Regions from separate parts of the Homo sapiens genome. Here all the other regions are linked to region 4. The links are contacts of gene promoters, found by promoter capture Hi-C in human tissues and cell types (Jung and others, 2019). All regions are on one chromosome and are shown on one strand. Each heading gives the region's core, a stretch centred on a gene start or on the middle of the fragment in contact. The rest is flanking DNA. Distances are from core to core; before and after follow the strand shown.

Region 1 (6,871 bases), core at 2,897-5,396, 1.4 Mb before region 4:
ATGTTTCCCTTCCTGTGTCCATGTGTTCTCATTGTTCAATTCCCACCTATGAGTGAGAACATGCGGTGTTTGGTTTTTTATCCTTGCGATAGTTTGCTGAGAATGATGGTTTTCTCTTATGCCCTGCAAAGCCTGGAGTTACTTACTCTCTTAATGCCACTAGGTGGTGACTCTGCTTCAAGGAGTCAAAACCCCAAGGTTATTGATTGGGAGCTAGGCACTTGATAAGCAACGCTGTTACATGCATTATCTCATTTAAACTTCACGGCAACTCTAAGGAGTAAGTGCTATTATTATCCCTACTTTACAGATGACAAAAAGCTGAGGCTTAGCACATTTTAAGAGCTTTGCCTAATGCTATTCTCCAATAGGTGGCTCTCTCAACACACTGCTTTCTGAGTCAGTTTGAGACAGGCAGAAACTGAAGACCATTTTAAAGCTGGACAGTGGTGGTGCTCTCAGATGAGCACATATGTTGAAAAAAAATCATTAATGTTATTTAACGTTCACTTATGGAGCCCTTCCTATGTCTCAAGTGCCAGAATAATGGTTTACAAACACAGTGTAATTTAACCCTCAAAACAACCCTATAGATCAGGCACTGTTGTTACTCTCATTGTGTAGATGAGTTTGTTGACACGTAGAGAGGCTAAGTAAATTGCTGCATAGGTGTGTCTTAGTAGGTGACAGCCCAAAAGCCAAGAGCAAAGTGCTTCAGAGAGCTTTGCCCTGGATTCTAAGTGGGAACTGAGGATCTCTAGGTCTTTGGCCTCTGGCTGGGATCTCAGGAAGGGAGACACTAACCCAACAGAATCCCCAACCCCCTACAAGCAAAAAGCAGTCAGAATTTTGACCCGTCTCAGCTCTGGCCATAAGTGAGGGACGTTGGACAAACAGCTTCCACTGGAGTATAGGGCTCGGTTTTTTCTTCCACAAAAGGCGAGGTTGGACTCTCTCTATATAAAGAAAGACTCCAAATTAGATGCTCGCAGGGCCAAGCGGGTAACAAAAATGAGTGATGTGGATCAGGCAGGGACGGTGGCAAACTGGTGAGCACATGCTGCATTTTAAGGGGCTGTTCTGGCCAATTGCAGTCATGTAGGAATGTAGTCTACTATTGCTAGGTCTTTGATCTTCCAGAAGAATCTGAAAATTCAATCTCCTTTTAAAAAATGTTGGTGGCCGGGCGTGGTGGCTCATGCCTGTAATCCCAGCACTTTGGGAGGCTGAGGCAGGAGGATCATGAGGTCAGGAGATTGAAACCATCCTGGCTGACATGGTGAAACCCCATCTCTACTAATATAAAAAATAAGCCGGGTGTGGTGGCATGCACCTATAGTCTCAACTACTCGGGATACTGAGGCAGGAGAATCGCTTGAACCCGGGAGGCATAAATTGCAGTGAGCCGAGATCGTGCCACTGCACTACAGCCTGGGCGACAGAGTGAGACTCTGTCTCCAAAAAAAAAAAAAGTGTTGGCAATGGATTTAAACCTTAAAAACCATAAAACTATCTAATTAAAAAAAATGCACAGTCATGAGCTGAATTTGGCTGACAAATCCCTGTTTTCTGTACTTGAAGATGCCTTCAGTTCCCTCCAGTTCTGAGTTCTTTCATTCCATAAACTTTATGAGCCATGGTGCTGGCCAAGTCGAATTGAGGAAGGAGAAGATATTGGGAAGAAACAAGAACCGTCTCACCCTCCTTGGAGTTCCAAGGAGGTCACCATGGGATTCTTTCCCTTAGAGCACTTCTCCTAGATCAGTTTTCATACTTTGGTCAGTTTCAGAATCACCTGGGAACTTGGTAAGATAAACAAGGCCCAGGCGCATCCTCTTTTATCAAGTCAGGACCTCTGTGTACTTGGTGAGTTCTCCAGATGATTCTGACATAGCCCAAAGTGTGGGAACCCTTGTCCTACATCTATGATTCTCAGCACCGGCTGCACATAAGAATCAACCGGAGAGCTTTTACGACCACTGATGTGTAAGTCCTACCCAGGACCAATTAATCAGGCCCAGAGGATTCTAATGTGCACCCAGGGTTGAGACCCACTGACTTGATCAATGCTCCTGGTTAATGCTTTTTACACTTTGGTGTGCTGGAGGATCACCTGGGGGTTCTTGTTAAAAATCAGTAAGTCTGGGGAGGGGACTGAGATTCTACATTTCAATGCTGCTGCTGTTGTTCTGGGAATCACATTTTGAGCAGCAAGGGTCTGGGAGAGTGTTTTCCAAATTTTCCATATGATAAGAGAATCACTTGTTTTTATCAAATATATAAATTCAGTTGTAATTTTTAAAAGACCACCTAAATGAGAACAAGCAAAGGATATTTATTTGGGGCTTGCTCCAGCAAGGGAGTCAGCCATCCTCACTTTTGTTTGGTAGAGGCTCAAAGGTAGGCAGAGGAGTGGGGAGGCTGTAGAGGCGGGAAGCAGGGGAGACTTCAGGTGTGCCCTGAGTGGAGGCTGCTGGCCAGAGGAAGCTAGAGGCAAGTTAACTAGGGGCAGGAAATCCTATGTGATTTGTTAGGGGGCATGTTTGACTTTCTCTGGTTGGTCTTAAATTGGAAGCAAGGCCAAGAATTAAGGAAATTGGGCCAGGTGCAGTGGCTCGAGCTTGAGTTCTCAACACTTTGGGAGGCTGAGGTGGGAGGATCGCTTGAGCCCAGGAGTTTGAGGCCAGAATGGGCAACATAGTAAGACTCCCATCTTTACAAAAAATAATAATAAATAAAAAGAACTAGGAAAACTGTCAGTTATTGATTAAGTCCTGGTTCGTCTGAGCCGATGGCTACAGGAGTTGTTGTTTGGCTTCCTGGAGAGTTTGCTACAGAGAATGGGTCAGAATTCAATTTTTATTATGGTCTAGCCTTTGTCCACCTGTATATTCAGTCTCTCAATTCCCAGAGCTCCCCACTGGACTTTCTGGTTCAGAAGGCCTGGGTGAGGGTCTAGGAATCTCCAGGTGATTCTTATCATCAGGAAGGGTTGGGGGGAACCCTGATGGAAACCAAGTAAATTAGAATCACCTGGGGAGATAAGTTAACAGTAGCTACCCAGGCCCTACCCCAGACTTCATGAGTCAGAATCTCTGGAGGCGTCGCGAGGAATCTGTCTGTTCCCTCTATCAGTTGTGTCTTCCTGACTAACCACTTTGAAACAGTGGGTTAAAACAACAATAGTTTATTGCTTTTCATGTTCTGTGGATCTTCCCCAGTTTAAAGACTCTGGGTTGCACCAGCAATTGTGGATGAGCCCCATAATCTACAAGCCCCAGGTCTCCCTCAGGAAGAAAACTTTGTAAGTACTTGGGAGCCATCAACAAATTGTGTTGAAGTAGGGCCATTCAATGGTATTTTGGCAGGTTTTGAATAGCAAAGCTTAGTGATTCCCACGGACTCTAAGAGGGAGTTTCTTTGAAAATGATGCAGTAGCTACAGGTGTTTAATTTGCTGCATGATACCTACTCTATTGGGAATGATGTAAATATTTGAAGTTTTTGAACGATAGAGGTTGTGAGGAGATATATTTCAAATAAACACTAATAATGATAGTCAATATTTCTTGAATGCATATAAGGTGCCACACAGTGTTCTGAACACTTAATGTGTAATCTTCATGGCAGCCTGTTGAACTAGGTCCCATTTCTCAGGTAGGGACACTGAGGCACAGCGCGATTAATTCATTTACCTGAAGTCATAAAGCCAGGATTTAAACCCAAGTGGTCTGACTCTACACTCAAATATACTGTATATCCCACATACACTCAAATAAGAGAAATTAGTTCTTTCTGAAGCCCCAAGTGTAATATCTCTCACTATGTATTGCATAAGTTGCAGGGAAGAGGTTATTTTGCCTGGCCTGACTGGCTTAAACAAGTAGTCACTAGTCAGGCCACAGAGGACTGGTTAGTGGTCTCAGTCTTGTAAAAGAAATTACCTCTTTTTGCTGTTCACTCTTCAGCCAGAGGGAGGCTGGCTTTCTAGCTCTCTTCCCCACATCCAGTGCTCTGTGATTGTCCAGACACTTAGGGCCAGCTTGACAATATAGAGATAATAAAAATAAAGCTGTGGTGAAAACAACCACATCATCAGTTGCTATGCCAACCTAAGTTGCAACCAAGGCTATTTCATGGGCAGTATTGAGGTAGAAAATGTTCTGGAGGCTAAGGTGGTAGAGGGCATTCAAAATTTCCCTCAATGTCTTTTGAGTCCAGTCTGCCCCAAATAGCCTTCAGTGGTTTACACTTGCCTTCAGGATAAAGTCTCCCTGCTTAACATACCTAAACACCATCTTCCCACTCCTTCCCACCCCTCTGGCTTCATCTCTTTCCATTTCATCACCAGGTTCTGTAGTCCTGCTAGACTGAGCAAATTTTGTTTGGTGTGTCCTTGCTTTTCATCACCTCCAAGTCTTTGCATATATTCTCTGCCTAAAATTCCTTTCCTTCCCTCTGTCCTCCTGCTTTATTCATCCTTTAAGCTCCAGTTTGTATGTCACTTTTTTCAGGGAACCTGAAAATATTAAGAACTGTGAAGGATCTGAGTTTTAGCTTCCTTGCAAGCTAACCTGTTAGTTGGCCATAACTTCAAGGATGCTGCAAAAGACATGAGACACCTGGGTCAGAGACAAAGGATAGTTTATGACTCATAGCAATAGCAGAATCCAGAATATCATCATTTTTGTGTTGGTTCTCTAAGCCCCAGTTCCAAAAGTGTGATGTGAAAAGGGAACCTGAATCTTTTTCTTTTTTTTTCTTTTTTCTTTTTTTTTTTTTTTAGAGACAGGGTCTTGCCCTGTTGCCCAGGCTAGAGTGCAGTAGATGTAATCATAGCTCATTGTAACCTCAAACTCCTGGACTCAAGCAATTCTCCTGCCTCTGCTTCATGAGTAGCTAGGACTACAGGTACATGCCCAGTTGATTGGAAAAAAATTTGTTTTGTTAGAGACGGGGTCTCATTATGTTTCCCTGGCTGGTCTTGAACTCCTGGCCTCAGGCAATCCTCCCACCTTGGCCTCCCAAAGCTCTGGGATTACAGGCATGAGCCACCATACCCAGCTGGAAACTGAATCTTCTACACTGGGCAGTGAGCATGCCTACCCATCACTGTAGAGGAAGATATCATCTCTATCTTTCAAGGTTGTTTTCCAAATATCCTTGAAAATATAGCCCAAGACAAAGGCAGACAGGCCCTCTGCTTTCGAAACATGCAGAAATACAAGAGATCTATGGAGAATTTTCTCCCAATAACTCTGGGTTCAATGTCATCTGCCTTGGTCCTCCCAGTTAATTTCATCTCAACTGTCCTTCACTTGACGGGGACTTTCCTTCATGCTCCTCTCTCATGGTCTACACCAGACTCCTTTGTAGTAACTTCTCATAGAATTGGGCTCTTGTCCTTCAGACCACTTATCTCAGTCTGTAATTATATGCCATTATGGAGATTATTTGATAAACATCTGTTTATCCCATTATGCTATATGCTTCATAAAGTCAAGGACTGTGTCTGTTTTCACAATGGTATCTGTGTTGTTCAGTGCAATGCCTAGTACACAGTGGGAACTGAATTCATGTTTATAGAAAAATTGGGGCTATTACATTGAAAAAGTAAAAATCATTGAGGGTCAGAGTAATCGAGGTGACCTGCCCGAGGTCCCACAGCTAGTTTCGAGTAACTAAATTCAAATTCCCTGAATCACAATCCATTTTCTTTTCCATCCATGAGCACTTAATCAGATTTTGTTTCCGCACAATGGTGGTGGTGGTGGCGGGGATGACAATTAGGTGGGGGCAATGGAAGAAAGGCACGAATGACTTGGGCATGGGTGAGGAGTATGTGACCCCTTTCGGAAAATAGTTGAAATTTTTCTCTCAATTATTCCTGCTCTGGGCTCCGCTGAGAACCAAAATTGGGTTAAGACTATTAGAAGCCTATGAGGCAGACAAATGAATGGTTCAGATTTCAGACTATTGTGGAGATCGTAAAAATAGACACTATTTATTCCTTGGGTATTCCCCTCCCACACTGACTCAGGGCTGGCCTGGTAACTTGCTTTGCCCCATGGACCATTGGCAAATATGACACAAGCAGAGGCTCTAAAAGCACTTGCTTATTGAGAATCTTCCCTCTCTTGTTCATCTTAGGACCCTGTGACACCCGTATGTGAATAAATCCAGGACAGCCTGTTGGGTGATGAGGGACACACAGCCAAGTCATTCCCAGCACCCTAGCCAACCTGAAGCCAACCCACCAAACACATGGATGAGGCCGTCCTAGACCATCCAGCCCTGGTAGAGCTGCCAGCTGACCAAAGAGATCAGCTGAGATGACCCAGACCAAAAGAACCATGTCACTTACATAATCATTAAGAATAATAAACATGCCATTTTAAACCCTTAAGTTTTGGGATGTTTGTTACATAGCAGAAGCTAACTGATAAAACCGCAATGCACCCTTGTTTAGGTTTAAATCCAAGCCTCATCATTTAATTGTTTAGCCTGAAAGAAAAGTTCTTTAACCTGCCTGTGTCTTAGTTTCCTCACCTGTGAAATAATGACAAAAATGGATTATGTAATTTACAGCATTCATGTACACAGTAAATGAGTTAATATTTTAAGAATTTTCAGAATGGTGCCTGGGATATAGTAACTGCTATACATGAGCACAGCTATCATGAAAGATGATGATTTCCACCACCTATGCCATGTGTAATTAAAACAAAAACTGCTTGAACAAAATTGGTAAATGTAAAGACCTCTACAAAGTTTTTCTGGAAATTATTGAATGCTAAGTGTCATAAGCATGCGCTCCTCCCTCGTTTTGGGTGCCATCCCCTGTTACTGATATCTTAAGTGTGTTCTAGTTT
Region 2 (6,563 bases), core at 1,717-4,216, 1.2 Mb before region 4:
CAATTCCTGATCCCATTATGTTTCTGATCACCTGTAGGATGCTCCCACTTCCTGTAGGACTCAGAACTGATTACTTGTCCAGTTTACCACCTGTTGTCAAAATAACATGTTCTGCCTCCCAACACTCATTGCTGAGTCTGTCTTCCAAGGAAACTTTTATTCCTAGAGCTTAGATAAAGATATGAAGTGGCTTCCACCACTGAAAGGGGAAGAATGTGGGAGTAAGTAGTTGGATAGGCAAAGGCCTGCAGAGCCTCTGGAGTCTTGGGTAGAGAAAACAGGTTTTGTTAAGAATCTATCAGCGTGAGTCTGCTGAAAGATCAAGTCTGATTCTATATGTGTAGATTTCAATTATGCTTGGCCAAAATATTACTGATACAGAGAAAGTCCTTGTATCAGTTGCAACATTGAGTAAAAAGTCCTCAGAAGATCAACCACTTCCTTAGAAAAAAGGTTGCTCATGCCTGTAATCCCAGCACTTTAGGAGGCCAAGGTGAGCGAATCACAAGGTCAGGATCCTGGCTAAAACGGTAGCCTCTGGTCTCATCCTGGACTAACTCATCCCTCTGGGATCATCCTGGACAATGTGCGAAGCCCAAGCCCTGGAGGGCTGTCTGCAGCATGGGTGATGGTGACATGCTTCCGGTGGCCTGTGAACCTGTCCAGACCATCCTGGCTAACACGGTGAAACTCCGTCTCTACTAAAAATACAAAAAAATTACCTGGGCATGGTGGCTTGTGCCTGTAATCCCAGCTACTCAGGAGGCTGAGGCAGGAGAATCGCTGGAACCCAGGAGGCAGAGGTTGCAGTGAGCCGAGATTGCGTCACTGTACTTCAGCCTGGGCAACAGAGAGAGACTCCGTCTCAAAAGAAAAGAAAAGAAAAAAGGTTGGAGAATGAGCATATAATGTTGAAGGTGGTAAATAACTTTCTTTTTCTATTGTTCTTTTTTAAATTTTACTTGAAGTTCTGGGATATATGTGCAGAACGTGCAGGTTTGTTACATAGATATACATATGCCATGGTGGTTTGCTGCAGCTGTCAACCTGTCATCTAGGTTTTAAGCCCTGCATGCCTTAGGTATTCGTCCTAATGCTTGCCCTCCCCTTACCCCCCATGCCCCAACAGACCCCGGTGTGTGATGTTCCCCTCCCTGTGTCCATGTGTTCTCACTGTTCACCTCCCACTTATGAGTGAGAACATGCAGTGTTTGGTTTTCTGTTCCTGTGTTAGTTTGCTGAGAATGATGGCTTCCAGCTTCATCCATGTTCCTGCAAAGGACATAAACTCATTCTTTTTTATGGCTGCATAGTATTCCATGGTGAATATGTGCCACATTTTCTTTATCCAGTCTATCATCAATGGACATTTGGGTTGGTTCCAAATCTTTGCTATTGTGAATAGTGCCGCAATAAACATACATGTGCATGTGTCTTTATAGTAGAATGATTTATAATCCTTTGGGTATATACCTAGTAATGGGATTGCTGGGTCAAATGGTATTTCTGGTTCTAGATCCTTGAGGAATTGTCACACTGTCTTCCACAATGGTTGAATTAATTTACACTCGCACCAACAGTGTAAAAGGATTCCTATTTCTCCACAGCCTCACCAGAATCTACAAGGAACTTAAACAAATTTACAAGGAAAACAAACAAACAAACAACCCCATCAGAAAATGGGTGAAGGATATGAACAGATACTTCTCAAAATAACTAAGTATGAAGAAAAGGCAGGAACTGTAAAATAAAAAACTAGTAAATTTCACCAAATAAAAATTTTTTAATGTGTTCCAAAACATATATATGATAATATATAATATGTAATATTTTATCTTAAGAGCTAATATATAAAGAACTCTTACAAATCAATAAAATAAAGATCAACCTTCCCAATAGAAAAATGGTCAATGGACATGAAATATAAATTTATAAAAGAAATACAAACTGTTAATAAAAAATTCCACCTCACTCACTAGCAAATAAATGCAAATAAAACAACAAGATAGTATCCCCACCTATTAAATTGGCAAAGGTTAACCAGAAAAATACTAACCAATACTGGTAAATGTGTGGGAAAGTTGACATTCCTATATACTATATTTTTAGAAGTGTAAATATCTTTCCAGTAAGTATTAAAAACCATAATATTACACATATGTTTTGGCCCAACAACAATCATAAATGAGCACAAACATTTGGCTATTAGAATGCTGAATTGAAGCATTATTATTATTATATTAGTTATATTAGCAAAAAATTCTGCAGAAACAAGATAAATACAAAAAGAATATTAGTCACCTGTATTAATCAAACTCTGGTGCCTTCAAACAGCAGAAGATGATCCAGTCATTAAGAATGGAACTAGAGGGGGACAAAAGTGCCTGCAATTGACAATTCAGCCATTCAACTATGTTCATTCACTCAACAACAACTCACTGAGCACATACACAATATTCAGCACTGCTGACATCAAGATGAACAGAATACAATCCCTTCCATCAAGAAACTGCCATTTTATTGTGGGAGACATTTGGTTAATGATACACCAGAGGTATGAACGGAGTGTGGCCGTATTCTCTCCTCCCCCACCAAAAAAAAAAAAAAAGAGTCTATCCTGGCAAGTGATCCAGATTTCGAAGAATCAGTAGCAGCAATTAGCAGTTCTAAACCATGAGTTAATTGTTGAAACTCCAAGACCAAAAGGCATGTGTGTTAGTTATCTATTGTTACATAACAATATTATAATACCACCAACTGAGCAGCTTGAAATAACTCACATTTATTGTCTCACAGTTTCTGACAGTGGTTTGGTGTCTGATCATGGCTTACCTGGGTTCGCTACTTCAGAGTTTCACAAGGCTGCAGTTAAGATGTCAGCCAGCTCTGTGATCTCATCCAATGACTTGACTGGGGAAGAAGCCACTTCCAAGTTCATGTGGTTGTTGGCAGGATTCAGGTCCTTGTGGGCTGTTGGACTGACAGGCTTAGTTTCTTGCTGGCTGTTGGTCCCTCTTAGTTCTCAGCTGTTTGTTGGACAGGAGCCTCTCTCAGATCCTTGCTCATGGGCCTCCACAGCATACTCACTTGCTTCATCAAAGCCAGAAAGAGAGACAGTCTGCTAGCAAGACAGATGCTATGGTCTTCTGTCATATAATCATGAGAGTGTCATCCTGTCACCATGGCCATTATATGGGTTAGAAGGAAGTCACAGGTCCTTCCTATCCTGCAAGGGGTAAGATTCTACAAAGGCACCAGGAGGCAGAGATCATTTGAAACAATCCTAGAGTCTGTTCACAACAGGGTAAAGGAGAGAAACATTAGTTCCCTGAAGCTGAGTCACTGGGGAAGCCAAATCAAAGGTGTGGGTTGGGATGGAGAATTCCCCAAACTGAGGCCGGTGGCATTGTCTTGGCCTCACTGTCAAAAAAATCATCCCCAAATTTGCAAAGTGGTCCATCCCATGAGTTCTTCTAAGCATGAGTATAGTGTATCTGGGGCAGGAAGCTCAGACTCAAATATCCACAAGGGCTGAGCAGGTAACATAATCCATACAGTTCTCCTCTTAAAGGAAAGTTGGAGACTGCAGCAAACTGGGCCACACATGGCCCATCATAAAGGGACTGCTGCCAGGCAGCTCAAGGAGTTTGTTGTCTATGCAGGAATGCAGTCCTATTCCTGCCAGAATTTCTGACTTTACAAAGAAGCTCCTTAAACCACATTTGTCCATGAAATTTCCCAAAATTTTAAATTATTTGTGGGCTAAGGAAAACATATCTGCCAGCCAGATCCAGCTCCCAGGACCTCAGTTTCAGATCCCAACCTAGCAACCTATCCTGAATTTGCAAGGATACAGAGCAAGGCCACTTGCTGAATTTCAAGCTAATATTTTCCACTCTGCTAGCTCCTGGCTGTTACTAACATGTTCTCTTCCCTTTTGAGTTTCTAATTGTGTGAACTCCTCACATTCAAGGCAGACCAGCCTGCTGATTAGTTTTAAATTTCAGGAGCTTTAAAGTCTCCAAATTTGGAGGTAAGCGGACTCTCATTAAGAAGTCATTTGATAAAAATTAATCCCTCCAGGAATATCTTGGACTCAGAAGAAAGCCCCAGCTCTCTCATTAGCTGGTTTTAAGTATCCAGTCCACCTCGGAGGCCCCAATCCTCCCTGGGTTTGACTCTGGGGCTCCAAACAGCTGCCACTGTGTCTGGAGACCAGATGCCAGTGATTCTAAAATCACAGGAAAGGATGCAGCAGAACTTCGAACTCAAAGGCTACAGCAAGCCCCCTGCCCCCTGAGCCCAACTCCTCAGATTTAATCACTTCCCCTTGAGCCTGAGAATGAGGGGACAGATTTTCATCTTACTGAGTAGATTTCAGAGCTTACTTCGCCTAATCCTTGCAGATTTGTCACTGACCTAGCAAAGAGAATAACTAAATGAGTGTTTGGGGGTCACCACGGGGGAGCTCCTGGGAGAAGAAACATCCCTCTGGGCTCATCCTGGACAACGTCCGGAGCCCAAGCCCTAGAGGGCTGCCAGCAGCATGGGTGGTGGTGACGTGCTTCCAGGGGCCTGTGAACCTGTCCAGAACCGGCCTCAACTTTAATCTCTAACTAACCCAGTTATAAAAAGCTTTTATGTTAGTGAGTGGTTGTTTTGGAAGCAAGGTAGCTTTCTTATTTTTTTTCCTAAATGTTTCTATTTTTATTTTTTGAAAAGATAACACATGCACATGGTTTTTTAAAAAATGTAAACAGAACAAAAGGGAAGACCATGAAAAGTAAATTCCCCCATCCCTACTTTTGTATCCCAATTCCCCACCCCAGGGCAATTGCTGTTATAAGTTTCTCCTGAAGAAAGATGGATGTTTTTAAATTTTCTAATCTGGCCTCAAAAATAGCCAAAGGCCAAACACAGCCCACAATAATGTAATTAAAATGAGTGATGGAGCCATACACATGACATGTCACAGGAAGAGAAAGATCACAAACACAAACTCACACTCAGAGAGCACACAAAATCAGTGTGTGTGTGTGCAGAGTGTCTTTGTGTGTAAAGAGAGTGTGTGGGTGTGAAGGATTTGTAGGTATAGTGTGTGTGCACTTGTGCATATACTACTTGTGTGCCAGGGTGTGTGTGTGCGTGTGTGTGTGTTGCCCTCGTCTCTCTGAAAACTTCAGTCAATTCCATAAACATTTATTGTGTGCTGTGTGCCAGGCCCTGTTCCCAGTGCTGTGGGTTATACCAAGATAAATCATATAAGGTCCCTGGCTTTGGGGAGCTTACGATAAGAATAATTCACATTGGATTGGCCCCTTTCCCTTTACAGGGAAATTTTCAGGCGAGTTATGTCATAACTCAGGCTGGCTACAGCCCGAGGCATGCTGGGACTTAAGCAGCCAGGGCTGAGCTGGCAGGAGGGGGAAGCCCTGATGGGGGATGGGTACATGGAACCAGCAGCAGAGGCTGGGTCTCCGCAGACTGCTAAGGACCAGGGACTTGGGCCACAGGCGCCACCCCCTTGAGAAGGTTCAGATAGGCACCTGTGTCAAAAAGGCCAGATGCATGCTGCATTGGCCTGGCGATTCTGTTCCTACAGTAGCACTGCTTCATAGCCCAGCTCTGCCACTAATTACAAGTGTGATCCTGGGCAAATCGCTTAACCTCTGTTCATCTCTTCAACAGAGACAGATGATAGTTTCCTCCTCCTAGAGGTCATATGAGGATTAGTGAGGTAAGGCAAGCAAATACATAGCATGGTGTTACTCAGTAAATGCTCAATACAGGGCATCATGGCTGCTGTTATTATATTGCTATTATTCAACAACACAAAACTCTGAATCTCCACAATTTAATACAAGAAGGGGGATCCCCTGGTTTAGAGGGATGCCTGATCAAGGGCCCTTGAATTGAGCCTCTTAAATGTCACTTTCCATTTGAGGACCCTCACTCTGATTCTGGCTCTTGCTGCCTCTCCTGGTCAGCTCCAGCCCCAAAAAAGCATAATGAAAACAGGGCAGAATTTTCAAAAAGTTTTGCTAAATTTTAAGGCAAGTCAGCACACTGCTTACAAAGAATCTAACTGTACCCCATCTTGCCAGCTCACGGTGGCTTTCAGGCCCATCTCTCTCAACATGGAACCCCAAGGAAAGAGGCAGCTTTGCATGAGTCCCTCATTTCCTGGCTCAAGTCCAGTAGGTTCCTAAGCTTTGCAAGTATATACCAAGCATCCTACACAGGTGGAGGGTCGGATAAGTTCCCCCAGAGAAAGCAACTCTGGAGCAAACACCTGAAAAAGGAGTTTGAATATCTGCATGGGAGGTGAGGAGGGCAGAAATGCAGAGGACATTCTAAGCAGGAAGGTGAGCATGGGCAAAGGTCCTGGAGCAGAAAGGCACATGGTGGATTTGAGAGATGGAAGGAAAAAACCATGTGCCTGAAGAGGACAAAATAAGGGGAAAAATAACAAAAGATGAGATTAGAGAGGTAGGCAACTTCCAGATTGCAAAGAATGTTGTGGCCATCTGTGGTGAACACTGCTACCACTCAGGCCCTATTCT
Region 3 (6,925 bases), core at 3,199-5,698, 1.3 Mb before region 4:
TGATCATGGCTCACTGCAGCCTTGAACTCCTAGAAGCTTAAGTGATCCTCCCACCTTAGCCTCCCGAGTAGCTGGGACTGTATGCACATACAACCATGCCTGGCTAGTTTTTTTTTTTTTCCCGTAGAGATGGGGTCTCGTTATATTGCCCAGGCTGGTCTCAAACTCCTGGCCTCAAGCGATCCTCCCACCTCGGCCTTCATGGGCCAAGCATGCCCCTACTGAGTCACAGCCTTCATCATGTGAGGGTGAAGACTAAGAGGGATCTGAGCCAAGCACCAATCGTGTCTGCTACAGGTGCCTGCAGCTGTGTAAATAGTTTGGAGGGTGCTATAGACTGAGTGTTTGTGTCATCCCAAAATTTATATATTGAAACCTAATCCCTAAGGTGATGATATGTGAAGGTCAGGTCTTTGGGAGGTGATTAGATCATGGAGACAGAGCCCAGCAAATGGGATTAGTGTCTTTATAGAATAGACCTCAGAGAGCTCCCTCATCTCTTCTGCCATGTGAGGACACAGCAAGAAGATGGCTATTAATTAACCAGGAAATGGGGTCTCACTGGACACTGAATCTGCCAGCACCTTGATCTTGAACTTCCCAGCCTCCAAAACTGTGAGAAATAGATTTCTGTTATGTATAAGCCACCCAAACAAATGAAGACAGTGGGAAATGGAAGGATTTGCAGGAGCAAGGTCATGTGCTGAAGAGCAGGGCCAAAGATTTACAGTGGACTGAAAGGTTTGAAATGGCCTTTGGGGGAATAGAGTGGGAGGTTCCCAGGTGCACACGATAAATCACTAGAACTGCTAGGGACTCTGATGAATTGTGACTCATAATTTAAAAGTGGAATTAGATCAGGCATGGTGGCTTGTGTCTGTAATCCCAGTGCTTTGGAAGGCAGAGGCAGGAGGATCACTTGAGGTCAGGAGTTTGAGACTGGCCTGGGCAACATAGCAAAACCTCATCTCTACAAAAAGGTTTAAAAATTAACTAGGTGTACCTGTAGTCCCAGCTACTTGGGAGGCTGAGGTGGGAGGACCGTTTGAGCCCAGGAGCTTCAGGCTGCAGTGAATCATGATCATACCACTGCTCTCACCCTGGGTGACAGAGCAAGATCCTCTCTTAAAAAAAAAAAGAAAAAGAAGTGGAATCGATGCCACAGTAACACTAAAAATGTGAAGTATAAGCCAGCAAAGGAAAACAGAGTAAATGTCTCCCTTTTGGGGTTCTTGAATTTGTTTTGTTTCTTCAAATCTATGAAACAGAGGTCACTCTCTAGGTGGTAGAAAAATAATTATGTCAGGCCCGCTACTTAGAGTTGTGCTAAGTTGTTTTCTGGCCAAGGGTGCCCAGCCAAGGGAGAAAAGGAGGTGAAATCAAGTCTTCACTTAGTTTACCAAGCTGTCTCCCCTATAGCTGGGCTTACACGCTGTCTATTTTCCGTGAGGCCGGCAGCATCCCTGCACTTCACACAAGAAGCCCAGGGGTTTGGGCCAATGTAGATCTTCAAATATGGGTCATCCAGGCCCTGTGTCCAATGGAGAGACATGAACACAGCATTTTACATCACCACCTCCCCAAGTTGTATTTCCCAAGAAAGGTTTTCTGCCCATTAGTATCAGAGAAAGAAACAAAAAGCTATATTTCAATTTGTTTATTGCTCTAAAGCATCTGTTACTTTGCTATGTTTTGCAGGGAAACTTGGCATCTCATATTCATAAATGAGCTGCTTTGGGTTTAATTGTGCAGCTAACTTGAGCTATAAAACAGAATCCGTAGCTGCTTGGAGAGGGTTTTGAGGGAAAAGAAAATGAACCTCCAGGGCTACTTTGCTTAGAAGATAATCTGTGTGTTAACGGCATCCCATGTAAGCCACGTACATTTAGCTCTCAGTCTTAGGGTATGAGGGAGCCTGGGCTTCCACACATGAGCCAGGAAAGAAAGGCTGATTTCTGATGGCCTGACCCTTGGGGACAGGCTGAGAGAGCTGGACTGGGCCAGATGGTCTGTCCCTATCTCTGACTCCAGGCATTTTGTCGACCAGTGACCACAGTGGGTGGACCGGGTAACTGTCTGCAGAACCTTCTGCTCAGTCTTCCCCACTTTATCCCCAGCAGAGGAGCATCTTCAGTAAAAAATTAAGGACTAGGCTGGGCGCAGTGGCTCAAACCTGTAATTCCAGCACTTTGGGAGGCCGAGGCAAGTGAATCACTTGAGGTCAGGAGTTTGAGACCAGCCTGGCCAACACGGTGAAGGCCCGTCTCTATTAAAAATACAAAAATTACCCGGGCGTGGTGGCGCACGCCTGTAATCCCAGCTACTCGGGAGGCTGAGGCAGGAGAATCACTTGAACCCAGGAGGCGGAGGTTGCCGTGAGCCGAGATCCCACCACTGCACCCCAGCCTGGGCAGCAGAGTGAGATTCTGTCTCAAAAAAAAAAACAAAGAAAAGAAAAGAAAAATGAGGACTAAATGGGATCCACAATGACATAGAGTGAGGTCCTCTAGCAGAGAGTGAGATTTAAGAGCAATAGCCCCAAGTTCAAAATTCTGTTCTTCCTGTTTTTTTTTCCCCTCCTCTCAATTTTATCTCTAGGGACTATGGATTGCATTGACATCTGAAAGATTTTTCTATATTGGAGGCTTACAGAAACAAAGTTGGGGCAAGACTTTTTCTTCTAAGCCACCTCTCACAGATCCTTAAAGAGGGAAAACGGGGGATGGGGGAGGGGTGGCAATATGTCACATAAGAGTGAAAAATGTTGGCTGGGAGCGATGGCTTATGCCTGTAATCCCAGCACTTTGGGAGGCCAAGGTGGGTGGGTCACTTGAGGTCAGGAGTTCAAGACCAGCCTGGCTAACATGGCGAAACCCTATCTCTACTAAAAATAAAAAAATTAGCTGGGCGTGGTGGCACGTGTCTGTGACCCTAGCTACTCGGGAGGCAGAGGCATGAGAATCGCTTGAATTGGGGAGGTGGAGGTTGCAGTGAGCTGAGATCATGCCAGTGCACTCCAGCCTGGGTGACAGAGTGAGACTCTGTTTAAAAAAAAAAAAAGACAGAGAGGGAGAGAGAAAGAAAAAAGAGTGAAAAATGCAGTGGTTCAGGGCTGAAACGCTACAGGTCAAAAGGAGTGATGGTCAAGATAGATGTCTAGGTGGGATCAGAGCCTGACTAACTTTCTACAAGGGATAAAACTGAGAGTAGACATATATATATATATATAATATATATATATATATATTTTTTTCTCTATTTTGCTGATGGGAAAACTGAAATTAGGGAAGTTACCCAAGGCCATCCAGTTCAAAGGTGGCAAAGCAAAGGTTTGAACCCAGAAGCTACAGGACCAGTCCCAGGGCTCAGGAAGAAGAAGACAGAATGTGAAGCTCCTTCTATTATGGATAGAATCCTGTGATGAGAAGTTACGGAGAGTCCCGCAAACACCCGCATCCTCTCCGTAAACTATTGTAAATGAAGCTTCTGCTTTTCCTTCTACCTCGGCAGGAGCTCAATTTGGAGTCAGAAGAACCTGGGTTTAAAAGTCAGCCCAACCTCTAACTAGTGTGTTCTTACACAAATTATTTAACCTGTCTATTCCTTGGGTTCCTATCTATAAAACAGAGACAGTAGCAGTAATAATTCATAGGGTTGTCACAAGGATTCAATGAGATAAAATGAGATGCATGATATCATGTGAAGCCCCAAGAATGGTCCCTGACACATAACAAGCACCCTGTAGGTATCAGATGTCAAAATTCATATTTACAAGTGAATTCCAGTGGAATCTGGGTCAAGCATAGCTCAATGCCTTTCTTGACCCTGGGTCTTTCCCTTTTCCTCTGTCTCTGTGACTTGCCCATTGCAGAAAAATGATAGAGCCTTTATCCTCAGTGGGGCAGGACCGAGTTGTTTTGATTTCTAGAGGTGGGTCTGGAAGCCACATTTATGATTGTTCTCTGTGAGGCCCCAGAGAGGGTGAGGGAAGTCTAGATCTCCTCTGTGGCTGGCTGGGTGGGTTCCCCAACTTTTCCTTCAGGCAGATCCCAAAGTCAAGTTTAAGAGGTGATGAGTAGCTATGGAATGCCTAATTTTGGCCTTGGGTTCCAGATTCATTCTTCAATCTAGCTTGATGAGGAATACAAGTTAAATTATATTTTAATTTCCATCTGCACCTATTTTTTTAACTTAGTTTAGAACCAGAAAGTGAAGAGAAGCATTAATTGTTGACTTCAAACCTCAACCGAAGGGAAGTGTACAGTTTAGCCATCGTGTAATATTTTGCCTTCAATCCAAAAAACCACAAAAAACAAAAACCAGTTACATAGTTATTATAGCCACTAGAGTGACTTTCTAAAAGAGCTCACTTTATTTTTTGGATTGTGCTAATTGTGGATGCCTGGACTTCCTACCCACCCTACATAGCACAGACCCAATTTCTCTTCCACATAACAGCTTTTCAAATACTTCTATCTTAGATAACTCTTTTGTCCCAGAAAAATATCTCCTATTCATCCAACTGTTTCTCATTGGACCTGTTTTTTAGTTTCCTTGCCATTCTGGCCTCTCCAATTTTTTCTGGCTGTCTCTGAAAGGGTTTAAACCCTCAGACTGAGTTGCAGGGCTGATGTTATGGACAATAGTTGTCTGATACAGCTGGGCTGGTGGGACACTTCCTGAGCTTCTTTACAATCATTTTCTTTCATCTTGTGGTTCTCAGAGGCAAGAATGGCTCATGTGCTTGGGAATTGGCATCTGCTGGCACTTTATAATATTCTGCAAGCACTATAAAGTGATCTGAATTTTCCCCAAATGGAGTATACAGATAGCAGGAATGTTGCTATGGTCTGGGAATCTTTTTTTTTTTTTTTTCTGAGATGGAGTCTCACTCTGTTGCCAGGCCAGAGTGCAGTGGCACAATGTCAGCTCACTGCAACCTCTGCCTCCTGGGTTCAAGCGATTTTCCTGCCTCAGCCTCTCAAGTAGCTGGGACTATAGGCATGCACCACCACGCCTGGCTAACTTTTGTGTTTTTAGTTGAGACGGAGTTTCAACATGTTGGCCAGGATGGTCTCAATCTCTTGACCTCGTGATCCACCTGCCTCAGCTTCCCAAAGTGCTTGGATTACAGGCATGAGCCACCCTGCCCAGCCTCTTTTTTGTTTGTTTGTTTAAGATGGAGTCTCACTCTGTCACCCAGTCTGGAGTGCAGTGGCACAATCTTGGCTCACTGCAACCTCTGCCTCCTGGGTTCAAGCAAGTCTGGCTCAGCCTCCTGAGTAGCTGGGACTATAGGCGCATGCCACCATGCCCGGCTAATTTTTTTATTTTTAGTGGAGACAGGGTTTCGTCATGCTGGCCAGGCTGGTGTCAAACTCCTGACCTCAAGTGATCTGCCTGTCTCAGCCTCCCAAATTGCTGGGATTACAGGCATGAGCCACTGCACCCAGTGATCTGGGAATCTTAATGCAGCTAAGTTCACTCCCTCACTGATCTCCAAGGTTCTCTTGGAAACCCTATGTATATCATTTTTTAATTTTTTGAGATGGGGTCTTGCTGTGTTGCCCAGACTGGAGTGCAGTAGTCTAATCACAGTTCACTGTAGCCTCAACATCCCAGGCTCAATTGACCCTCCCAACTTAGCCTCCCTAGTAGCTGGGACCACAGGTGTGCACCGCCATGCCTGGCCAATTTTTAAACATTTTCTGTAGAGATGAGGTCTCACCATGTTGTTCAGACTGCTCTCAAATTCCTGGGCTCAATGGATCCTCCCACCTCGGCCTCCCCAAGTGCTGGGATTACAGGTGTGAGCCACCACACCTGACCTTGTGTATCATTTTTAAAATGTGATGTAAGAAATAAAGATTTCATGCAAAATTTCTCAGTTATAAAATTTTGGCAAATTATTTTTAAACAACATCAACAGCTACAAACAAACAAACAAACATGATAAGAGCCAAATAAACTGTGTCTCCTGATGCTTCAGGCTACTGTCTGCAAATCTGAAGCCTGCATGCCTCAGCCACTGGCCTATTCTTCTTTCTTTTGCTGATGTTTACAAAGGACCTGTTCGATTCCAGGCACCTGAGAAAATGCTGGGAGAAGAGAAGTGAGCAAAGGACCCACAGTTCTTGTCCTTGTGAAACTTGCCCAGAATTAAAGTAACCTACGAGCCTTTGTCATAAGTCTCTTAGATGCTGTGAAGAGTCTTCTCCAGCTTTCCAAGGCCCCCAAGTACCCTCCTGCCCTCACCTTGCTGAGAAGTTAGGATTCTGTCGTGAGAGTCATCTTCCCTTATGTTGACCTCTTTGTTCCCATTCCTGTCAGCTTCCTGCAAGCTCTACTTTCTCTCAACTGGCTTCTTTTGGCTCTTTCCATTCCAATATGGCTTAATGTGGATTTTGGGACCCTCTTTAGAGCATGGAGCCCTCTGGAGACTGAGAGGAGATGAGGAAACAGGAGAAGGGGTAGAGACCGAGCAAGAAGCAGGACCCAGGAGAGCCCTTGGAGCCTGAGGTGACCATGTGGACTCAGCCCTGTCTCCTCCTGACAGCGCAAATGTCTGCTCCACACAGCAGCAGGCAGAGTGTCCTCTCAACGCTCAGCAGTGGAGGAGGAAGGGAAACAGCATTTCACAAATCACCTGCTGAAGTCAAGAAGTGGTCAGGGGCATCCCTAGGTGTTCCTTTTAACTCTGTCAGCAGCCCTACAAGACATGTGCTGTGATTATTTCTACTTTTCAGACGAGGGAAGTGACTTTAGACGAGGGAAGTTCTTTCCCAGAATCATAGAGCTAGTAATTGGCAGAGCTAGAATTTGAATGGAGATCTGTCCTTTGGTTGCAAGTGATGGAAACTCAGTTTAAACTCTCTCAAACAACAAGGGAATGTATTGCCACACATACTTTGAAAGTCCAGCGATG
Region 4 (7,005 bases), core at 2,027-4,526:
ACCCCATCTCTACTGAAAACTACAAAAATTATCTGGGCGTGGTGGTGTTCACCTGTAATCCCAGCTACTCGGGAGGCTGAGACATCAGAATTGCTTGAACCTGGGAGGCAGAGGTTGCAGTGAACCAAAATTGGGCCACTGCGCTCCAGCCTGGGTGACGAAGCGAGACTCCATCTCAAAAAAAAAACACTTTATTTGTAGACACTGAAATAAATTTGAATTCCATAAATGAAACTTCATGTATTACAAAATGTTATTTTGATATTTTCTTGGTAACCATTTAAAAATATAAAACTATTCTTATTTCATAGGCTGTAAAATAAGTCTGTGAGACCAGTCTGGCCTCCCAGCCACTTCCCTGCTCTAAGTGAAACCCTGCTTCTTGCTTGCCCAAAGTGAAACATAATCCCAGTTTTGAAGCTAGCACACCAAACCAAGTTACTAAAATGGCACTGCTACTACAGTTTTAGAGCAGCTTTAGCCCAAAGGAGCCTTGCCTCTCCAAACTATACTAACAAAATAGCCATTTTTAACGAATAAACATTGCCCAAGATCTCTCTTTTAACCACAGAATCCTCCATCATAATTCCTTAATAAAATAACCAGAAGGAACACTTTTGCTAAGTATGGTTCAATCAAATCCACAACCCTACTTTTATGCAACTCCAAAAGGCCCAGATGTGGCTGGCTATGGAACTCACACACCCAACTGAACACTTAGAAGACCTTGTATAAAACTATTAATCTGAAGGAGGAAAAACAGTTACAGTTACTTCACAAGCAACGAAGTTATAAGGCAAACCCAGGATCCTGGAATATTAAGTGGAAAACAAATTATCAACTCCAGCCACAGTGCAGAAAGGACAGTTTCCTACTTTATCTCATGGTGGTTTCTACACACCTTTCTTCTGTTCCTTTTAATCTTTATTCATGCACGATTATTTTCATAATATGAATGTATTCATGTCAAAATAATGTCTGGATTCATTATTCTAAGGAAAAGAGTTGACCCATCCCCCAAATATTCAGAAAACACCATATTAAGTCTTCACCCTAAAGAAATTATCTGCTGAATTGTTAGTGAAGGGGTACACACACACACACACACACACACACACACACAGAATATAAATACGGTATCTGAAATAAACGTATCTGAAACCAGTATTAGTTTTCATTAGAACTTAACAGATTCAGCTTTTAAAAGGTACAGTCAGAAAGTATCCTCTGCTGGGAGATATTCTGAGGCTATGTCTACAGCTGCAATTCCGCCTCCATACACATCACAGTGTTGAAATAGTGTTTCAATTTTAAAATAAGTGCAATTCTTTTATGAGCACTAAAAACCTACCAAGTGGCTGCAGTAGGGGTAATCATGATAAGTGTTATAAATACCAATAGCTAAGAGACTCAACCATAATCCCCCATCAATGGAGATAAATCGCTTTTTCTCCTATCCAGGACCTTATTTCTATCAACTGCTTAAAAATGTTAAAAATGACATTTCTAATTCATTGTCTACCCCATTGTTCCATATGTGACATTCTGGTAACTGTACAGTCAACGGTACAGTACCTTTGAGTTGTCTCTATAAGAATGAACTAGTGTAAGCAAATAATCCATAGGAATAAATGTGGTTTTGCAATTTAAGTTTACATACATTCCTAACCATATCATACAAGTGATCAATGATACTGATATTGCACCTAACAAACTGCAATGGCTGGAGGCTTTCAAAAAAATTTACAGAAATTTAGGATTCCTTTAACAATAGAAAAAAGCCCAATATACATATTACTAAAGACTAAATGCTACTTTTCTAAATTGCTCTATCTCCTTCTTAGACAATTCTCTACCCTCATTAAAACACATGAAATCAACCTGGGTGTAAATTCTCTGAACACCTGGCATAATAAAAAAGTAATGTAGGAAAATGAGAAATATATGAAAATGATGAGACACAAGATGATATAGGGAATAATTAATACTCTATGGAAAAGCAAAATGTATTATAAATGCTAGCTATGACAAGCCAACACTCTGGCAGAGTTCAAAAGCCTCTTTTCAATGAATTTAACATTAACTGCAAACTATGTTAAGGTCATATACGAAATATCTCACTTAATTCTACAGTTAACCTGTACACGTTTAAGTGGCGCAAGACTGAGCTAATGAAAAGCCTACCTACCCGGTCACAGCGTAACGCTCACGATGCATAACTAAAACTCCCTCCCGTCCCGTTCTGTTTTAAAAACCCTTCCTGTAAAACTTGCATAATCTTCCTCCTCATCACACACAATCTTTCTAGCAGGCTGACTAAATCCAAGTTTAAAGGAGATCTCTGCTAGGTAGGAGGGGAAGGTTCCGTAGGATGGGAGCGACAACCTGTCAAACCCATTTTTTAAGTGCTTAGGGAGAAATGTCACCCCAATCAGCCTGGAGAGTTCAATGGCTTGCGATGTACAGTTACATTTCTTCACGACCCTTTGTACGTTCTGGGATTCAACGAGACAACAAGAGGGGCTGGCTTTTCGTTTTGTTTCTCGGGGTAATGGATCTGGCCGGGTCTCTTCAGTCTCAGGCCTCGGTGCCAGGCGGGCGCCCCCAGCCACGCTCTGGCCCCAAAGTTCCCCAGTCCCGCTGCCGGGCGTCCGCAGTCACCGCCCGGGACCCAGGAACAATGCGGGGCTCCGGGCCGCTCACGATCGGGCCCGGGAGGCCATGCCCCGCCTGCGCTGCGGAACAAAAGGCGCTCGCGGGGCCGCGGCCGGGTGCCCGGGGCTCGCGGAGTCGACGCCCGGCGGGGAAGGCGCGGGGAAAACTTTCCAAGGGGCCGAGGCGGAGGGGCGAGGGCCGGGCCGCCCCCTCGCGGAGCCGTCCCGCACAATAGCCGGGCCCAGCGCGGGAAGGCCGGGCCGCCACGCCCCCGCCCCGGCCCCGGCCCCAGCCCGTACCTGGTGGTTCTCCTTCCTGCCGCCCGCGGCCGCCGCCGGCCCACCCGGGCCGCTAGTCATGTTCACGTACAGGGAGCGGGTGAGCGGGCTCCGCAGCGTCCACATCCTCCGCGCCAGCCACACGGACGCCAGGCTCAGGCACAGCCAGCCCGCCAGCAGTCTCATCGGGGGCCGCGGCCGCTCGCTCGGATCACCGCCGGCGCCGGGGCGAGGAGGAGGAGGCACCGCCGCCTCCGGCCACCGCCGCCACCGCCCGAGCTCGAGCCATCGCGGCCGCCTTGCCCATCCAGCCCCCTTCAGGGCAAAGGCTGGGGGTGGGGAGGAGCAGCCGGCGCGCAGCCTCGGCACCTCCCCCTTCCCTTCCGGCCGCGGAACGCCGCTGCCCCCTGCACCAGTTTCCATCCGGAGCACTTACGAGCGGCCGCGTCGCTTTCTCCCCCGGCGCCCTCCCTCCGTCCAATGAGCGGGCCGCTGGGAGGCGGGACAAAGGGAGCGCGCATCCGCCCGGAGCGCGTTCTCGTGTCCCGGCCCTGCCTTGGCCTCTAGTAAATGGCGGAGGTGGTTTTAATTTTTTTGAGGGCTGAGGAGATCACTTCCGAAGGCGGTAACTGCAGCCTCCCTGCCCCTCCAAGGTGGTGCTGGAAGGACCTCCAGTCTTTCCTCGCCTCATCCCACTCCACGGCGGGACTTTGACAGGGTTACCTCTCGACCCTCATCCCACTCCACGGCGGGACTTTGACAGGGTCGTGCAGTTAACCCCGGGGGCGCAAAGAGGGGAGTCATTCCTTTCGTGCATCCTGACACACACAGGTTCTTCCCGGAGACGAATGGTGCCAGTGATGGTTGCCCGCTCGGATGCGTAGTTTCCAGTTTACATTTAGAACCGACCTGCCAGACTCCCTCCTCTACTCTCCCCACCACCACGACCCGCCTGCCCCGTTCCCCAAGCCTGAGAAGTTGCTGGCTACGTGTTTCTATAAAGAATGAGTGAAAATTCTGCCTTTTGGGGAAGCTACCGCAGCTGGGGTACCCACAAGTAATGTTTTAGATGTATTGATGGCCCTGCCCAAGAATGAAGACCTCAAGTTAGACTCCTTGGCTGCCTTGTTTCCTTGAATTAGCACAGGGAAGTTGGACCCAACACTCTTAAGAGTGAACTCAGCTCTGGGAGCAGTGTTTAACCCGGATATTTATTTGATCATTTATAACACGAGGAGACCTAGCAACATTTCAGAACTGAAGGGTTAGTTACACTGTGTTCCTGTCTGCAGTTCTTCCTGCTATTATCCAAGCCACAATTAAGGAGTAACATTTCGTGGGAGTCCCTAACTTTAATACTTTCCTAGGTTTGTTTGGAAAGTGCTTTTAATTTAACTGCACCAGAAATAATGTAAATGTGTCTAAGTTCAAAACAAAAGAAGTAAGCCTTTTGGTTAATTCAGCGTTGCACATCAGAGATTTTCATTTATGAAACAGTGGGGTGGTGAGCCACAGATGGGGAACAAAATCATTCCTTACCCAACAGCTTTTTTTTTTTTTTTTTTTTGAAACGGAGTGGAGTCTCGCTCTGTCTCCAGGCTGGAGTGCAGTGGCTCGATCTCGGCTCACTTCAAACTCCGCCTCCCGGGTTCAAGCAATTCTTCTGCCTCAGCCTCCCGAGCAGCTGGGACTACGGGTGCGCGCCACCATGCCCAGCTAATTTTTGTGTTTTTCGTAGAGACGGGATTTCACCATGTTGGCCAGGATGGTCTCCATCTCTTGACCTCGTGATCCGCCTGCCTCGGCCTCCCAAAGTGCTGGGATTACAGGCGTGAGCCACCGCACCTGGCCCAACAGCTCTTTCATTAGCTTTTAAGAATCTCAGCTTGGCACCTTTGGCTAACAAGGATATCTTGTTGCCTAATGTAACAGGCTGTAACAACAAACAAAAAGGCACAGGGTGGGTGGGGTTCGGTATTTTGTGTTCTCTCTTTCCAATATACTCCCTGACTGCTTCCTGCCAAAACCCCGAAAAGCCCAAGCCTTACTAAATCTAGTTCAAACCTCTAGTGGTCCTGGCCCAAGTCATCAAAAAGGAACTATGGTAGCAAGTCCAATAACTGTTTATTTACTATGACACCTCTCCTTCCTGTCTCTTAGGATCAGTGTAACAGACAAAGCAACTCTGTCACAAAAGGAAGCCTTCATCTTTTTAAAGTGGGGGTGAAAGCAGCAGGAGTGCATAAAATGGCATATTTCCTTTCTGAAGACAAAGGAGACAAAAAGGTATGCCCCAGCTATAGAGTGAGACCACATAGCTGTAGCTGAGAGACTGCAAAATGTTATCAGATGAACAAGCAAGTAGATGGCTGCTGTAGTCAGAAGGATTTTGGGGTCAGTTGACTGCCACGAAGCCTAACAGCTCAAAGGAGCAGATTTTGTTTTATATCTGAGCAGCTGGCCTAGAAAAATAAATCACTCATACATTTAAAATACTCTATAATAACCACCAAACACTCAAACCCATGCTATTTACATTTAGCAGGCACAGGAAGAAACCAGAGCATCCGATGATCAAATGATTTGCCTGAAGGTAGCAGAGTAAATTCAATAGCTGACCTTTTCATAGAACTTGGTATCCCAGCTCGTGGTCTTTCGATCCATCTAAGAAGCTTTGCTGTCTCTTCTCAGAGAGCCTCCTGAATTACAAATGAGGAGAAACGAAAACAGCAAGAGTAAATATACGAAGCAGAAGTTCAGATTGCCCACTGGGGACAGCCCCCTTCCTTCATCTACTAGAATGTCACTACCGTATATTAAAACCTCAATTCTCCATAATGGAGACGGGAAGGGGCAAGATGACACAAAAAGCCAAATAGCCAATACTCGTTCTAACATGATCTTGAGATGCAGTTAGTAATATTCAAAAGATACACAAATGACCCTCTGCACCGAACTCTGCTCATTGACCCCAGGTGTCCCACTTGGGTCACAGCCCTGTACACAGGCCCAAAATTTTGGCGGGATCACTTTCCTATCTAGATCTCTAGGCAAAGGCTTTTTGTTATTGTTGTTCTTTGAAGTTACAAAGCTTGGCATTTTCATATTCTCTTTTCAATTACAAAGTATCATGTTAAGAGAATCCACAAGCAGAGAGTTTGGATCTGTACAAAACCTATTGATGATTGTTATCTCCTTGAAGAGATAATGATTTAAAAAGAACTCATATAGACCAGGCAGGGTGGCTCATGCTTGTAATCCCAGCACTTTGGGAAGCCAAGGCAGGTGGATGGCTTGAGCCCAGGAGTTCAAGGCCAGCCTGGGCAACATGGAGAAACCCCGTGTCTACAAAAAATACAAAAATAAGACAGGCGTGGTGACATGCACCTGTAGACCCATCTACTCAGGAGGCTGAGGTGGGAGGATCACCTGAGCCTGGGAGGCTGAGGCTGCAGTGAACTGAGATTGTGCCACTGCACTCCAGCTTGGGTGACCCTGTATCAAAAAATAAAAATAAAAATAACTCATATAATCACTTTTTTTTTCCCGAGATGGAGTCTTGCTCTGTTGCCCAGGCTGGAGTGCAGTGGCACGATCTCGGCTTGCTGCAACCTCTGCCTCTCGGGTTCAAGCAATTCTCCTGCCTCAGCCTCCTGAGTAGCTGGGATTATAGGCACCTGCCACCACGCCTGGCTATTTTTTGTATTTTTAGTAGAGATGGGGTTTCACCATGTTGGCCAGGCTGGTCTCAAACTCCTGACCTCGTGATCCGCCTGCTGCAGCCTCCCAAAGTGCTAGGATTACAGGCGTGAGCCACTGCACCTGGCCATAATCATGTTTTTATGGACAGATATTTTTTATGCTTCTTAATATTGTTTTGTATACCTTCAGAGAAAGATACAGCTTTTTCCCAGTATATTCAATAGAATGTGTCCTGTAGTTATTAAGCAATGAGCACCTCTAACAAAATTAGCAAATGTACTCAACAATTTGTTTAATTAATTAACGTAGGAGATCTTTATCTGAATTTAGTTGATACAACTTCAATCCTGTGCAATGATATCACTGTGGG

Evidence for each region. The method cuts DNA at HindIII sites, captures the fragments that hold promoters and counts their contacts. A contact is called where the count stands out against the background at its distance.
Region 1: a contact is called between a fragment that was not itself captured here and the fragment with the promoter of METTL9 in region 4, in 1 of the 25 tissues and cell types used here (lymphoblastoid cells).
Region 2: a fragment that was not itself captured here is called in contact with the fragment with the promoter of METTL9 in region 4 in 1 of the 25 tissues and cell types used here (dorsolateral prefrontal cortex).
Region 3: a fragment that was not itself captured here is called in contact with the fragment with the promoter of METTL9 in region 4 in 1 of the 25 tissues and cell types used here (lymphoblastoid cells).

Annotation. Positions count from the first base shown.
Region 1 is chr16:22,970,871-22,977,741 of GRCh38, reverse strand. No RefSeq gene overlaps it. Among named protein-coding and RNA genes, the nearest start is that of HS3ST2, 160 kb to the right of the region's middle. RefSeq lists a silencer at 791-971. The HindIII fragment of the contact is 6,084 bases long and covers 1,105-6,871 here.
Region 2 is chr16:22,762,733-22,769,295 of GRCh38, reverse strand. No RefSeq gene overlaps it. Among named protein-coding and RNA genes, the nearest start is that of HS3ST2, 48 kb to the left of the region's middle. The HindIII fragment of the contact is 7,746 bases long and covers 1-6,563 here.
Region 3 is chr16:22,880,982-22,887,906 of GRCh38, reverse strand. All of the region lies in intron 1 of HS3ST2 (heparan sulfate-glucosamine 3-sulfotransferase 2), which reads right to left. Among named protein-coding and RNA genes, the nearest start is that of HS3ST2, 70 kb to the right of the region's middle. The HindIII fragment of the contact is 5,375 bases long and covers 1,761-6,925 here.
Region 4 is chr16:21,595,848-21,602,852 of GRCh38, reverse strand. METTL9 (methyltransferase 9, His-X-His N1(pi)-histidine) reads right to left here and starts at 3,276. Exons shown (of 5, transcript NM_016025.5): 1 at 2,955-3,276. The coding sequence starts at 3,119. It overlaps LOC101927814 (a long non-coding RNA gene), which reads left to right and starts at 3,468. Exons shown (of 3, transcript NR_110930.1): 1 at 3,468-4,197; 2 at 5,094-5,219. RefSeq lists an enhancer at 1,997-2,561 and a silencer at 2,670-3,289. The HindIII fragment of the contact is 5,713 bases long and covers 2,032-7,005 here.